2 separate regions of the Homo sapiens genome follow, and region 1 is linked to region 2. The links are contacts of gene promoters, found by promoter capture Hi-C in blood cells and fetal thymus (Javierre and others, 2016). All regions are on one chromosome and are shown on one strand. Each heading gives the region's core, a stretch centred on a gene start or on the middle of the fragment in contact. The rest is flanking DNA. Distances are from core to core; before and after follow the strand shown.

Region 1 (6,873 bases), core at 3,888-6,387, 290 kb before region 2:
GCAATTCTCCTGCCTCAGCCTCTCGAGTAGCTGGGATTATAGGCATGCGCCACCACACCCGGCTAATTTTGTATTTTTAGTAGAAATGGGGTTGCTCCATGTTGGTCAGGCTGGACTTGAACTCCTGACCTCAGGTTATCTGCCCACCTCGGCCTCCCAAAGTGCTGGGATTACAGGCGTGAGCCACCACACCAGGCCAAACATACACATTTATTAATGTGCTTATGCACAGGAGCCACACGAAATATAAGACTCAAAGAAGGGCCAGATGGCTGAAGCTTAAATAGCATCTACTTCACAGGGAAGGGAGATGGGATGGTAAACAATTTAGAGGGCTAGTAAGTGATTTTTGGAAGGATAGGAATGAGTTCAAAGAACAGAAAATTTGCCTGAGACAAAGTTCCTGTGAGCTCTGGGGGAAACAGCAGCAAAGGGTAAGGGGAGGAACTTCACTGTGACCAAAGGTTGCCTTATTAGGCAAATAATGTCTCCTGGAAAATCTCTCAAAAGCTGCCCTCAGAAAAATAGATGAAGAGTCTGTCTGGGCATGGTGATGACTTTTAGTCTTTTCTCTTCCCAGTGGTTAATATTTCCTGGTTACCTGATGAGATTCTTAGGGAGGAAGTTTTAAGACTATTGTATTTTATTCTGGAGGAACCTACCTTATTCAGATAAGGGAACTTCAGACAAAGCCCCTCCGGATGCTTTGGGAAAAGGGGATTGAGAGATGGGGTTAGGGGAAGGTCAGAAAGAAACCTTGGTTCTGACGCTATTTCAGAAGCCTTTCAATTTTCTTTAATTCAAAGCATGCAGCATGCCAAAGTGCCTTATTCAGTCAGGGGTATCATTTTCTGAGCCCCAACATTTTCCAGATGATTCCAATGTGCAGCCATATTGAGTTTAAAAACCACGATCCTAGACTCTAGAGTATTTCTTCTTTATTTTATGTAATTTTTTTTTTTTTGAGACAGTCTCATTCTGTCACCCAGGCTGGAGTGCAGTAGTGTGATCTCAGCTCACTGCAACCTCTGCTCCCAGGCTCAAGCAATTCTCCAGCTTCAGCCTCCCGAGTAGCTGGGACTACAGGCCCGCACCACCACATCTGGCCAGTTTTTGTATTTTTGGTAGAGACAGGGTTTTGCTTTGTCGGCCAGGCTGGTCTTGAACTCCTTACCTCAAGTGATCAGCCCGCCTCGGCCTCCCGAAGTGCTAGGATTACAGGCATGAGCCACTGCACCCGGCCTAGGGTATTTCCTGACTACCTAAGCTAATGGCTCCCAGGAGCAGAGAAGAACTTAGAAGCTAGTTCTACCTAGAGGCTGTTGCATTGAGGCACCTTTTTTTGGAGGGAGTGGTGACAAAAGCTGAAATTTAAGACACAGTGGATTGTTAAATTTTTTTTTCTTCTTCTTCTTTTTTTTGTTTTTTTTTTTGAGACAGAGTTGCTGTCTCCCAGGCTGGAGTGCAGTGGTGCAATTGCAACTCACTGCAACCTCTGCCTCCCAGATTCAAGCAATTCTTGTGCCTCAGCTACCCGAATAGCTGGGACTACAGGTGCACACCACTACATCTGGCTGATTTTTTGTAATTTTAGTAGAGACAGGGCTTTGCCATGTTGGCCAGGATGGTCTTGAACTCCTGACCTCAAGTGATCTCACTGGCCTTGGCCTCCCAAAGTGCTGGGATTATAGGTGTGACCCACTGTGCCCTGCTGCTTGTTAAATGTATTTATTTATTTTTTGAGACAGAGTCTCCCTCTGGTGTGCAATGGCATGATCTCAGCTCACTGCAACCTCTGCCTCCCAGGTTCAAACGATTCTCCTGCCTTGGCCTCCCAAGTAACTGGGATTACAGGCGCGTGCCACCATGCCCAGCTAATTTTTGTATTTTTAGTAGAGATAGGTTTTCACCATGTTGGTCAGGCTAGTCTCGAACTCCTGACCTTGTGATCTGCCCGCCTCAGCCTCCCGAAGGGCTGGGATTATAGGCATAAGCCACCGTGCCCAGCCTGGTTGTTACATTTAATATCAACAATAAGTTAGAAGGCCAGGCGTGATGACACACACCTGTAATCCCAGCACTTTGGGAGGCTGAGGTGGGCAGATCCCTTGAGCCCAGGAGTTCGAGACTAGCCTGGGCAACATGGCGAAACCCTGTCTCTACTAAAAATACAAAAATATTAGCTGGGTGTGGTAATGCATGCCTGTAGTCCCAGCTACTTGGGAGGCTGAGGTGGGAGGATTGCTTGAGCCTGGGAGGTCGAGGCTGCAGTGAGCTGAGAGCAGTGAGCTGAGATTGCCAGTGTACTCCAGCCTGTGGAATAGAGTGAGACCCTGTCTCAAAAAAACAAAAAACCCAACAAGTTATAAATGCACTGCTCAGCCAGAAGTATATGGAAGGGGCATAAGGCATAACCTTGGTGAGCAGGTTTCAGTTTTGCAACCTCCCAGAGTCAGTGCTGGGTTCCCTGTCTTGATTGGGCCCTCAGAACTGACTCACTCTAACCTTGGTTTGCCTCAAAATTATTTATCCTTTCTAACTGCTGGTTAAAGAAATTTCAGCCTCTCCTCATTTCTCTTGGGAGGAAGTAACTGAATGAAGTGAATAGAACGTTTCATTTGCACTCACTCATTTGCTAAGTGAGAGACCCTCGTATGCCTTTTCAGACTTTCTACCACTTAGAATCTATAGCTCTGGTCTTTCCTTTGCCTAAGAAATTGGATAGACCTAAATGTAATCAAGCCATCCAAGGTAACATCCAGTTTATAGAACATGTGTGAAACAGAAATGAGCTAAAACCATCAGAAAACAAATTCAGAAAATGGGACATTTTACAGGATACTGGGGCTGAGGATGTGTTACCTCAAAGACTAGCCCTTTGATATGCCAAGAGAGGCCTTAGACACTGCTTCAGAATCAAGTTTCCTCTAACTTTGTCTTGTTCCCCCGTCCCCTCAGTCCCTACAAAGACAATGTAGAACAAAAAAATTGGGGAGAATGGTGGTGTCCTGGAATAAAGAGGTTTTTTTTTGAGACAGGGCTTTGCTCTGTCACCTGGGCTGGAGTGCAGTGGCCTGATCACGGCTCACTGCAGCCTTGACTTTCAGGGCTTAAGTGATTCTCCTGCCTCAGCCTTCTGAGTAGCTGGGACTACAGATGTGCCTCACCACACCTGGCAAATTTTTAAATTTTTCTGTAGAGACAGAGTTTGACTATGTTGCCTAGGCTGGTCTCAAACTACTGGGCTCAAGCGATCTATCAGCCTTGGCTTTCCAAAGGGCTGGGCCTACAGGCATGAGCCACTGTGCCCAGCCTAGAGATTTTCAAAACCAACTGCCGGCAAAGTGTGGTGGCTCATACCTGTAATCCCAATCCTTTGGGAGGCTGAGGCTGGAGGATCACTTGAGGCTAGGAGTTTGAGACCAGCCTGGGCAACATTGCGAGATCTTGTCTCTGCAAAAAAATTTTTTAAAAACTGGCTGGGTGTGGTGGCGTGCACCTGTAGTCCCAGCTACTTGGGAGGCTGAGGTGGGAGGATGGCTTGAGCCTAGAAGTTCAAGGTTGCAGTGAACCATGATCATACCACTGCACTGCATCCTGGGTGACGAGCAAGACCTTGTTTCTAAAACATCAATAAAAGACCAAATGCCTTGTATGGACCTTGTTTGAATTCTAATTGAAATAAACCAACTGTAAAAAATCATTGTTGGGACAGTCTGGGAAATGTGAATATGGATGATATGCAAAAAATGTGTTAAATTTTTCCAGGTGGGGTAATGACATACTTATGTTAAAAAAAAGTCCATAATTTTTAAGAGATGCATATTGAAGTAAGCAAGGGTGAAATTATATGATGTCTGGGATCTGTCTCTAAAAGCTTCATAAAAGAAAAAGGAGGCCAGGCGTGGTGGCTCACACCTGTAATCCCAGCACTTTGAGAGGCCGAGGCAGGTGGATCACGAGGTCAGGAGATCGAGACCATCCTGGCTAACACAGTGAAACCCCATCTCTACTAAAAATAAAAAAAAATTACCCAGTCGTGGTGGCTGGCGCCTGTAGTCCCAGCTACTCGGGAAGCTGAGGCAGAAGAATGGCGTGAACCCAGGAGGCAGAGCTTGCAGTGAGCCGAGACTGCGCTACTGCACTCCAGCCTGGGTGACAGAGCGAGACTCCGTCTCAAAAAAAAAAAAAAGAAAAAAAAAAGAAAAAGGAGTGGCAGGAGCAGGGGACACAGTTAGGGGAGAGAAGCAAGTGTGGCAAAATCTTGGCAATTGCTCCATCTGAGCGATATGAATGAAGGGCCAGTAGACCATTGGCTTTCCTATTGTGATGGCTTGAAAGATTTCATAATCATGTATTCTTAGAAAGTGAGTGTAATACAGCTTGAAACCTTTGCTTCTGTGTCTTCTTTTGGCTTTAGCCCTACACTGCCTTATCTTTAGTCACCATCTGACTATTTTTCTCCCACAGAGCCCCACCTCTAATGTGCTTTAATAAGTCTAAGGCAGCCAAGAAGGAACCATTTAAAAAAAAAAAAAGGCCAATGTGGTGGCTCACACCTGTAATCCCAGCACTTTGGGAGGCCAAGGCGGATGGATCATGAGGTCAGGAGTTCGAGACCAGCCTGGCCAAGATGGTGAAACCTCGTTTCTACTAAAAAATACAAAAATTAGCCGGGCGCGGTGGCAGGTACCTGTAATCCCAGCTATTTGGGAGGCTGAGGCAGGAGAATCGCTTGAACCCGGGAGGCGGAGGTTGCAGCGAGCCAAGATCATACCACTGCACTCTAGCCTGGGCAACAGAGCAAGACTCTGTCTCAAAAAAAAAAAAAAGTGGGCAATGCTTCCAAAGCCAGCTAACGCTCACTAGCCAATTGCTTTCCAAGCTTTAATACTGAGACTGTGAGAGAGGAAAAAACAGGCTACTTGCCGCAGGACTCGAGATTCACAAAGACAAATTTTCTACCTCATGTTTAGAGAAAACTAGATGATTTCTCCTGATTTTATCATATTTATTTGCTCCCCTAAAAAACAAATGAAGAAAATGTGAGGGGGAATCTGGTGGCAGAAATTCATCTGCCAATGTGAGGCCAGGAAATTCGCATTGGGAAGAAGCCCAACTCTCTCGGCCTTATCTCTGCCCCTCCTCCCTAAGAGTCCTCACTGGCATTAGGTTCCCTGCACTCAGGATGAGGGTCAAAGGAGGCTGAGGAGGCAAGGGACATGGAACACCTACTCCAGAGTCTAAGTTCTTAGGAAGCAGCCACTCCATCCAACTGTCCCTCCCTTCTCTCCTTTCCCATCCTGACCTCTCCCCTGCTTCCTACAGCACGAGGCCTCACAACACACAGGTCACAGCATTGGAGGCTTGGGTGCCACTGTAAGCTTAGGACCCTGCTTCATCCTCTCCCACACCCCTACCCAAATTACTATTTTAAATATGGTGTTTTAACCTAAAGCCTAAAGTATAAACTGATTTTAACTTATACATCAGCTTAATCTGTGTTGTGGGTTGAATTGTGTCCCCCCAAAAGATATATTGGCGTTCTAACCCCTAATACCTGCGAATGTGACCCTATTTGGAAATAGGGTCTAACATAGAGAGAAACAGATACACAAGGGAAAAGGCATGTGAAGACAGGCAGAGATTAGAGTGATGTTTTTACAAGCCAAGGAATGCTAGCCACCACTAGAAGGTGCAACAGACAAAGCATGACTCTCCTAGAGCCTTCAGAGGTGCAATGCTGCTGACACATTGATTTCAGACTTCTGGCCTCCAGATTGAGTTATAAACCATTCTGACTGTGGTAACTTGTTGTGGCTGTCCTATGAAGCTAATACCACATTTCAGAAACATTTATTAATTAACCCTCACCACCACCTGAAGAGGCAGGAAACATTACTAACCCTATTTCCGGCTGGGGGCGCTGGCTCACACCCGTAATCCCAGCACTCTGGGAGGCTGAGGCAGGTGGATCACTTGAGATCAAGAGTTCAAGACAAGCCTGGCCAGCATGGTGAAACCCTGTCTCTACTAAAAATACAAAAAATTAGCCCAGCGTGTAGTCCCAGCTACTTGGAAGGCTGAGGTGGGAGAATTGCTTGAACCCAGGAGTGGAGGTTGCAGTCAGCTGAGATTGCACGATTGCACTCCAGCCTGGGCAACAGGGCGACACTTTGTTCTCCGCCCCCTAAAAAACCCCCAAAACAAACTAACCCCATTTCCTAGGCATAGTTTCAGTGCCATGCCTAGGTAGTGGAGAGCAAGCAGCTTTCAACCTGGGCTGCCTGGATTAGAGCCCATGTTCTTAACCACAAGACTAAATATCCCCCCAACTTGTGCTTCTTGTATAAAGTAATGGCTGTTTCCTGATTTTTTTTTTTCTGATATGGAGTCTCATTCTGTCATCCAGACTGGAGGGCAGTGGTGTGATCTGCAACCTGCATCTCCTGGGTTCAAGTGGTTCTCCTGCCTCAGCCTCCTGAGTAGCTAGAATTACAGGCGTGCCCCACGATGCCTGGCTAATTTTTGTATTTTTAGTAGAGATGGGGTTTTGCTGTTTTGGCCAGGCTGATCTTGAACTCCTGGCCTCAAGTAATCTGCCTGCCTCACCCTCCCAAAATGCTGGAATTACAGGCAGGAGCCACCTTGCCTGGCCATCTTTCCTGAATTTTCAAGAAAAGATTTGAGTGCACAATAAGAATAGCTATAAAAGAGATAATAACAAGTGTTGACAAGGATGTGGAGAAATTGGAACTCTCATATACTGTGGCTGAGAATGGAAAATGGTATAGTCACTTTGTTTTTTTGTTTTTTGAGACAGGGTCTCACTCTGTCACCCAGGCTGGAGTGCAGTGGCATGATTTCAGCTCA
Region 2 (6,575 bases), core at 3,492-5,991:
CCTGAGGCCCTGCCAGGCACAGTCCCGTGCAGATCCCAGGGCAGCCAGCTCTCTCTCATGGCCAGGACTCCCATTGTTGCTTTGTCTGGAAATGCCCTGGACAGCGCCCCTCCCACTCCCAACCAAACCCCTTCACCTAATGTCCATTACCACTACTTACAACTCAGCCTCAGAGGCCCCTGCTTAGGAGGCCTCCCTCCCTGTACCCCTACAGCTCTCCATGACCCTTACTGAGGCACACTCACCTATCCTGTCATTGCCTGTTTACACTGGGGTCAGGAGCCAACATGGGGGCCTACGCAAGGCCACTCTTGATGTCTCCACTCCTTAGGCCAGCACGAGGCCTGGCCCTGCATAGGAAGCCAAGGAATGCCCTCTGAGTGGGTGAGCAGGAGCCGTTCTGAGCTCGTGGACCTCGCTGGTTCCATGTTAGCCTTCACCCAGCCTCTCCAGGCAGATGGGGAGGGCCAGGCCTGGGAAGCAGACTTGGAAGAGCCCTGCCCTAAAGCACCCCTCTTGATGGCCTAGATCAGTATTTCTCTATTATAGTTCTATTTCTCTTTTTCTATTATCTATCCTAAGGAGTCTCTTTAGATACTGTTTTCTAATCAATCCCTCCCCTTCCAAGAAATGTTAGTGCCTCAGATATACCGTATCTGTGTATTGTGTACTGTATATATATCTGTGTTTTATACATAAAGAGTAAGATTTTTTTCACCCTCTCCCCCAGGGACCATGTCTACACCCTTGAAAATTGGTATCAGCCCTGCTGAGAAGGCATGGCCTAGACTGAGGCTTCAAATTCCATATTAGTGCAGATATACAGTATATGGGCTGCACTGCATGAGCCACCATTCAGTTCCAGCAGAGCATTACAGGGAGGGAATGGCCCAGTGTGGCCAGCTCATCTGGGTCTTCAAAAGAACCAGTAAGTCTGGACCAGCCTGGGCAACATGGCAAGACCCAGTCTCTACAAAAAATGTAAAAACTAGCTGGGCATGCTGGCACACACCTATGGTCCCAGCTACTTGGGGGGCTGAGGTGGAAGGATTGCTTGTGCCTAGGAGGTTGAGGCTGCAGTGAGGTCTCAAAAAAAAATTTCTTAAGAATATGGTGCAAGCCATAGAAAATCTATCTAAAGATCAGACTCTGTGTACAAATGCCAATGTGTAACCTCTGCTAAGCCCAGAGACAACACGCGTGGGGCAACTGTGAGACCCGGTGTTTTGCCAGTGCCTGGGTGTGGCTCTCCCCCAGTTTCAGGGCCCTTTGTGGGAATGAGGGCCACCCTGCTATTATGTGTTTGGATGCTGCTTTCTTCGCCTGTTGTCCCCATGGTGTGGTAAGTACCTCTCTGAAGCCTCTAGAAATCTTCAGCATGCGGTCAATGTACTCTTTGGCCTTGTCATGGCGGCCTATGAGCCAGAGGAAAAGGCCAGCATAGTACAGTGCAGTCCCACTGACTGTCTTGCGTATTTCCTTCAGGCTGTACTCAAGCTCCTGAATTGCTTCTCGGTCTGTAAATCCAAGAGCGAAGGAAGAGGGAGAGTTAGGATGTGGAAGTCTGCCTGGTTCTGCATGGGCCACCGAGGGCCCAGGGAACTACCTCGGGGTCTCCCCCAGACACTGTGGATCTCCTTCAACATATGCAGCACACCGCATGCAGCCCAAGGCCTGGAAACCAGCAGTACCTGCCCTTGAGATGCTGCAGGGGCTGCCCTGGTGTGGACTCACGTGTGCTGTCTGAGATTACCTTCTCTTCTCTGTGCCCAGCAGTGTGCTGAGCAGGCAGGCCAAACCAAAATCCTTAGCCTCAGGCCCACAACTTATTGTGAGTAGGGAAATAGTAGTCTGTAGTCTCTCTTGGACCCTCTCCCTGACTCTAGAAATGTGGAGATTAGGGGTAGAATTATATATATTGGCTTGGTTTTTCTGACAAGATCTTGGCAAAGAAGAAGGGTGTTTCCCCAACTCTTGGGATCTGGAGCATGGGCCCCTCCCACTGTCATGGGCTCTGCCTGCTTCCACTCAGTTGGGCCCAGGCATGGAGTCTTCTCCCAGGCCTCCAGGGGGAGAGGAGCAGCAGCCACTTCTCACTGGTTAACAGCATCTGCACAGCCACCAGGGCACATACCTCCTTTGGCAGCCCTTGAGGGGCTGTGTTATCTCTGGGGCAGGGCTTTCCTTCCCCTGGTGGGTCAGGCCTGGTTGAGCATGGTGGCACTCACCAATGATTTCACATCTTTTGTGAGCATAAATGAGGGCCATGGTGGAGCACAGGGACACGTCTGGGTGATGCCTGATGCTTTCCAGGTCACTGATGGCATCCTGGATGTGCTCTGCAAAGACAGTCCACATAGTTATACTCTCAAGCTCCAGGACTAGAGGACATGAGACTCTGTAGCTGACCCAACAGCTCAGCACTACTACCTGCTGGACTAACTGGTCTGAAAGGTCCCCAGTGACCCAAGTTCCCTGAAGATTGGGGCTCTTTGAAAGAGTTGCTGGTAACATGGTCCAGGCTGTTAGGGGCTGGAAATCTTGGACTTGAAAGGTTCACCCTGTGAGTACTTGTGGGGATATGTGTGAGGCTGCAATTATTAGCTGCGTCAGTTCTGAAGAAGGACCTCAGGCAGGGCATTCTCAGCTACTGCTCAAGAGCCACTGATTACATTTATCCCTCCATGTCCTCAGACATTTGGCCATGGGCTATTCTGCCAGTCCTCAGCCTAGGACCACCTTCTGAATGTCAGCCCATCTGCACCTGCATGGGTCTCACTCCTCTCCCTGTACCTGTACCATACCCACCTGTCCTCACACCTACCTCTTCCCCCTCCTTTGCCTGCATTACCAGTTCTCAGCTTCCAGGCCTGGAATTACTTCAAGAATCATGCAGCTATCTCTCCAACCACTCATTTTACAGAGAGGGAACCCGAGGTGCAGAGCAGGGATAGTCAGCGCTCTGAGGTCTCAAAAGTCAACTAGATATGGATTACGTAGGCCTCTGTGGATTCCCGTGGGAATCCAGCCGCTGAGTGTGAAACTGTTTTTATGGGACCATAACTAGGATACAAGAAGGCATCCAGGTGGAGCCAGAGTGTTAGGGCCCAGCTAGTGCCTGGGGTCACAAGACCAACACTGCCAAGTCCTTACCTTCTTTGAGGACTCCATAGGCTTTAAAGAACTTCAACACAGGGTCATTGCTGAATTTTTCCAGGCCCACAGCTGCAGCCTGCTGCACATGGTGGAAGTACTTTTCCTGGCTATAGTAAATGATCCCAGCCTGTATGAAGGAAGACATAACTGCAATAGCCCAGTCCCTTCTCTGTCTCTGTTCTGTCCCAGATGGGATGAGACCTGCTCCCTTCCCTATCCCCTGCTCCTCCTCAGTTCTGCAAAGGGAAGAGAAAGAGGAAACATTCAGGCCTCATCCTGTCCTCTAACAGCCCTGGGAGCAGCTCCATGCAGTTTTCCCAGGAAAGAGTTTGGAGGTGTTTGTTTGGGGGATTACCAACAGATTCTGGTTCAACTATGATGGGGAATTCAACCAAGGCTTTGTCTTAGGAAGGGAATAAGGGGGGAAAAATGAGGACAAATAATAAGAAAAATTATACGAATTGTAGTTACAAGTTATTGTGGGCTTCATATCCACTATCCTGTGCATGGTCCTCTCAGTATCTTTCACAGCTAAGGAAGCTTAAGCCCATGGAAACTACAGCTTGACAAAGGGGCTGAGATTTTAAAGTTAAGTTTCACTTCCTCTAAGGTTTGTGGGTGCTAGGTTGGGAGCAGATGTGGTTGGACTGTAAACATCCTCATGGGCCATATGAAAGAGCCCAGACACCATCCTAAGGGTAACAGAAAGCAGAATGGTTTTAAGGCGAGGGATGTTTTCAGATGTACATTTTTGCAACAACCACTCTGGCTGCTTTTGCATGTGGGGGGTGTGTGCCGTGGTGGCAGCAGGGACTACTGATGCTGAAAAGAGCCACAGCAGAGAAACCAGATGGGAGGGAGGCTGTTGCAGGCTCTCAGGGGGGAGAGATGGTGCTGGTTCTGGGCTAGAAGATAAAAAGATAAAAAGAAAACCCAGGAGACATCAAGGAGCTGGCATTTCTTGTAGACAGGATTAGAAGATGAGTATAGGGAAGAGGTATGAGTTAAGGCTAGGAGATTAAATGGTGAAGCCATCAACTGGGGTGGGAGGCGCAGGCGAGAGTGAGCTGGGTGGAAGAAGGGATGATGACAAGAAGGGATAATGATAGTGATTGGATGAGCTGGTTTGGGGTAGCTCAAGAAACGGGGATGCTAATTTGGGGCTCAGGGTGCGCAGAAGCCACCGGAGAAGACGCCCTTGCCAGGGGGAGTGGGGCAAGAAAAGGCAGGACCGCCTGATATAACTGAGGACAGCGAAGGGTGGCAGGAGAGTAGCAGGGCAGACGGTCTCTGGGTCAGGGGCGGGGAGTCACGAGGGAGCCCTCGGACAGCGCCCGGGCCACGCACCATAAGGGAGGAGTCATTGCTGCTCATCTCGGGCCGCTCGCGGCTCCGAGTCCGGGTCTGGTGGGGCGGTGCAGAGCGGGATTCCCGAGGCAGGGTCGTGGGCACTCTATCGCGGCGGGCGGTTGAAGGCGTTACAGTCCTTGGAAACCGAGCTGCTAGCCGGTTGCTAGGAGCGTCCAGTGTCTGGAGTGGGAGGAACAAAACGCCTCACGTCACAAGGCGCAGGAATCGAGCGCCGAGAGAGCGAGTCGGTGCTACTGGCGTCGGGTCGGTCCGGGTAGGCGCAGCGGGACTGGACCTGGGTGCCGAGCGGAGCCGCTGCCATGGGCCTGGGCGTCAGCGCTGAGCAGCCCGCAGGCGGCGCCGAGGGCTTCCACCTCCACGGGGTGAGTTGCCGCCGCGGCGCCGGTGACCTTGGCGAGGCGCCCGCAACCCCGCGCCCGGGCGTCCGGTCGCCGGCTGGCTGGCGACTGCGGCGGGGTCCCGGCCCGAGTGTTTCCGCCTGGGTGGCGGGAGGTGCCCCCTGCCCGGTGGGAGCCTCCTGGGAGAGGCGGCCTCGCGGGACTCCCGGACCCTGGCTAGTCCGCGGCCGCGGTCGGGCCCAGCGCCCGCCCCAAGTGCCAGCAGTGCCGGAAGCGGAGCGTTTTCCTGGTCCGGCCGCCGGGAATGGCGCTCCTCCCGGGTGAAGAATGCACCACTACCAGTCGGGACGCACTCGTGCACTTAGCACACATTTACGCTCGCCTGCCGCGGGCCGCTCTCCGTGCTGGGCCTGGGAAGAGAGTCAGCCACGCCGAGGACAGTCCCGGGGGCCGGGGTTAACCGAGTGGACGCAGCTGCGGGGGAGCCCGTCGGCGCGCGTCCTGCCAGTCGTAGGGTCGTAAGGGCTTCCGAGGGTAGAGGACCGGTGCAAACCAGCCACGGGATAGTGGGGAGCGGGAGGGCCGGGAGAGTGCTGCAGAATCCTCGAGGAGAGCGTTTGCAGCTGGGGAGGGTCCCAGCCTTTAGATGCCGCTACATGGAGGTCTGGGCGAGCAGGCTTCCGGAGAGTGGAGACGGAGTGGGGTTCCTAGAACGGAGTGTGCTGTGAGGGTGAGGAGAGGGTCCCGCAGCCGGATGGAGATTTGTGCCTGCGGTGAGGGAAGGGCTATAATGTAGGTGAGAGGGGCTGGGGGTCTCTGACCCCGGAGCGCTGCGGGGAAGAGGCGTCCCTGCACCCCCCCTTTCCCTAGTGAAAGGCAGCTGGATGCAGAGATGAGTGGAGACAGGCAAGCTTGTCGGTTTGTGTGTTTTGAAGGTAGGGTCTGTTGCCAGCTAACCACATGAGAGGGCTAAAAGTTTCTTAACGTGAAAACCAGGCTGGCTTGGAGAACCCAGAGTTGACAGGATTTGTGCTTGGGAATGGGCTTTCTTATGGTGAGACACCAAACAGCAAGCGTGGACAGTGGAATGCATCCAGCCAGGAGCGTCTTCCAACAGGTTTGATTAAAGGCAAAGGAACTCAGGATATTGGCAAGAGGAGGGGTGGGGCGATGATGGGAGCTTCGAAGACGGGAGGGGCCTGCCTGATGGAGAGGGACAAATTGGAGAGGGACCAGGGATCAGAGGTTGTCAGTCACAAAAACAAAGTTTTGAGCTCCTACTCTGGCAGGCAGAATTCTAAGGCTCTAGAGATAAAGCAGTGAACAGAACAAACATGGTCCCTGTTCTGGAGCTGACATTTGGATGATGGTAGGGAAAGAAGGGAAATGAAAAAATACATGGTAGGTGGTAATTACCAGTGATAAAAATAAAGCAGGTTAAGGGGATACAGAATGGTGAGTGGGTGCTATTTTTGATAGAGTGGTCAGGAAGGGCCTCTTCTCAAGTCACATTCGAACAGATGCTTCTGAAGGAAGTAAAGAGTGGACAATACAGATATTTAGGGGAATAGTAGTATTCCAGGCAGAAGGACCAGCTTGTGCAGAGGCCCCGAGGTAGGTTGTGCTTGTGTGTTTGAGGAAATGCCAGGTGAGGCTGGTGTGCTTGGATGGTGTGGCCAGTGTGAGGAGGAGACCAGAGCAGACCGTGTA

What was found. Contacts are between HindIII fragments. The CHiCAGO score rates a contact against its expected background, and 5 or more counts as called.
Region 1: a contact is called between a fragment that was not itself captured here and the fragment with the promoter of GORASP1 in region 2, in 8 of 17 cell types (activated CD4 T cells, total CD8 T cells, total B cells and 5 more). The highest score is 9.0, in activated CD4 T cells.

Annotation. Positions count from the first base shown.
Region 1 is chr3:39,397,773-39,404,645 of GRCh38, reverse strand. No RefSeq gene overlaps it. Among named protein-coding and RNA genes, the nearest start is that of RPSA, 5.5 kb to the left of the region's middle. RefSeq lists an enhancer at 1-583. The HindIII fragment of the contact is 499 bases long and covers 4,888-5,386 here.
Region 2 is chr3:39,105,793-39,112,367 of GRCh38, reverse strand. It overlaps GORASP1 (golgi reassembly stacking protein 1), which reads left to right and starts at 4,741. Exons shown (of 9, transcript NM_031899.4): 1 at 4,741-4,889. The coding sequence starts at 4,827. TTC21A (tetratricopeptide repeat domain 21A) reads right to left here and starts at 4,688. Exons shown (of 29, transcript NM_001366900.1): 1 at 4,504-4,688; 2 at 3,154-3,283; 3 at 2,229-2,339; 4 at 1,351-1,517. The coding sequence starts at 4,530. RefSeq lists a silencer at 4,792-5,111. The HindIII fragment of the contact is 2,080 bases long and covers 3,699-5,778 here.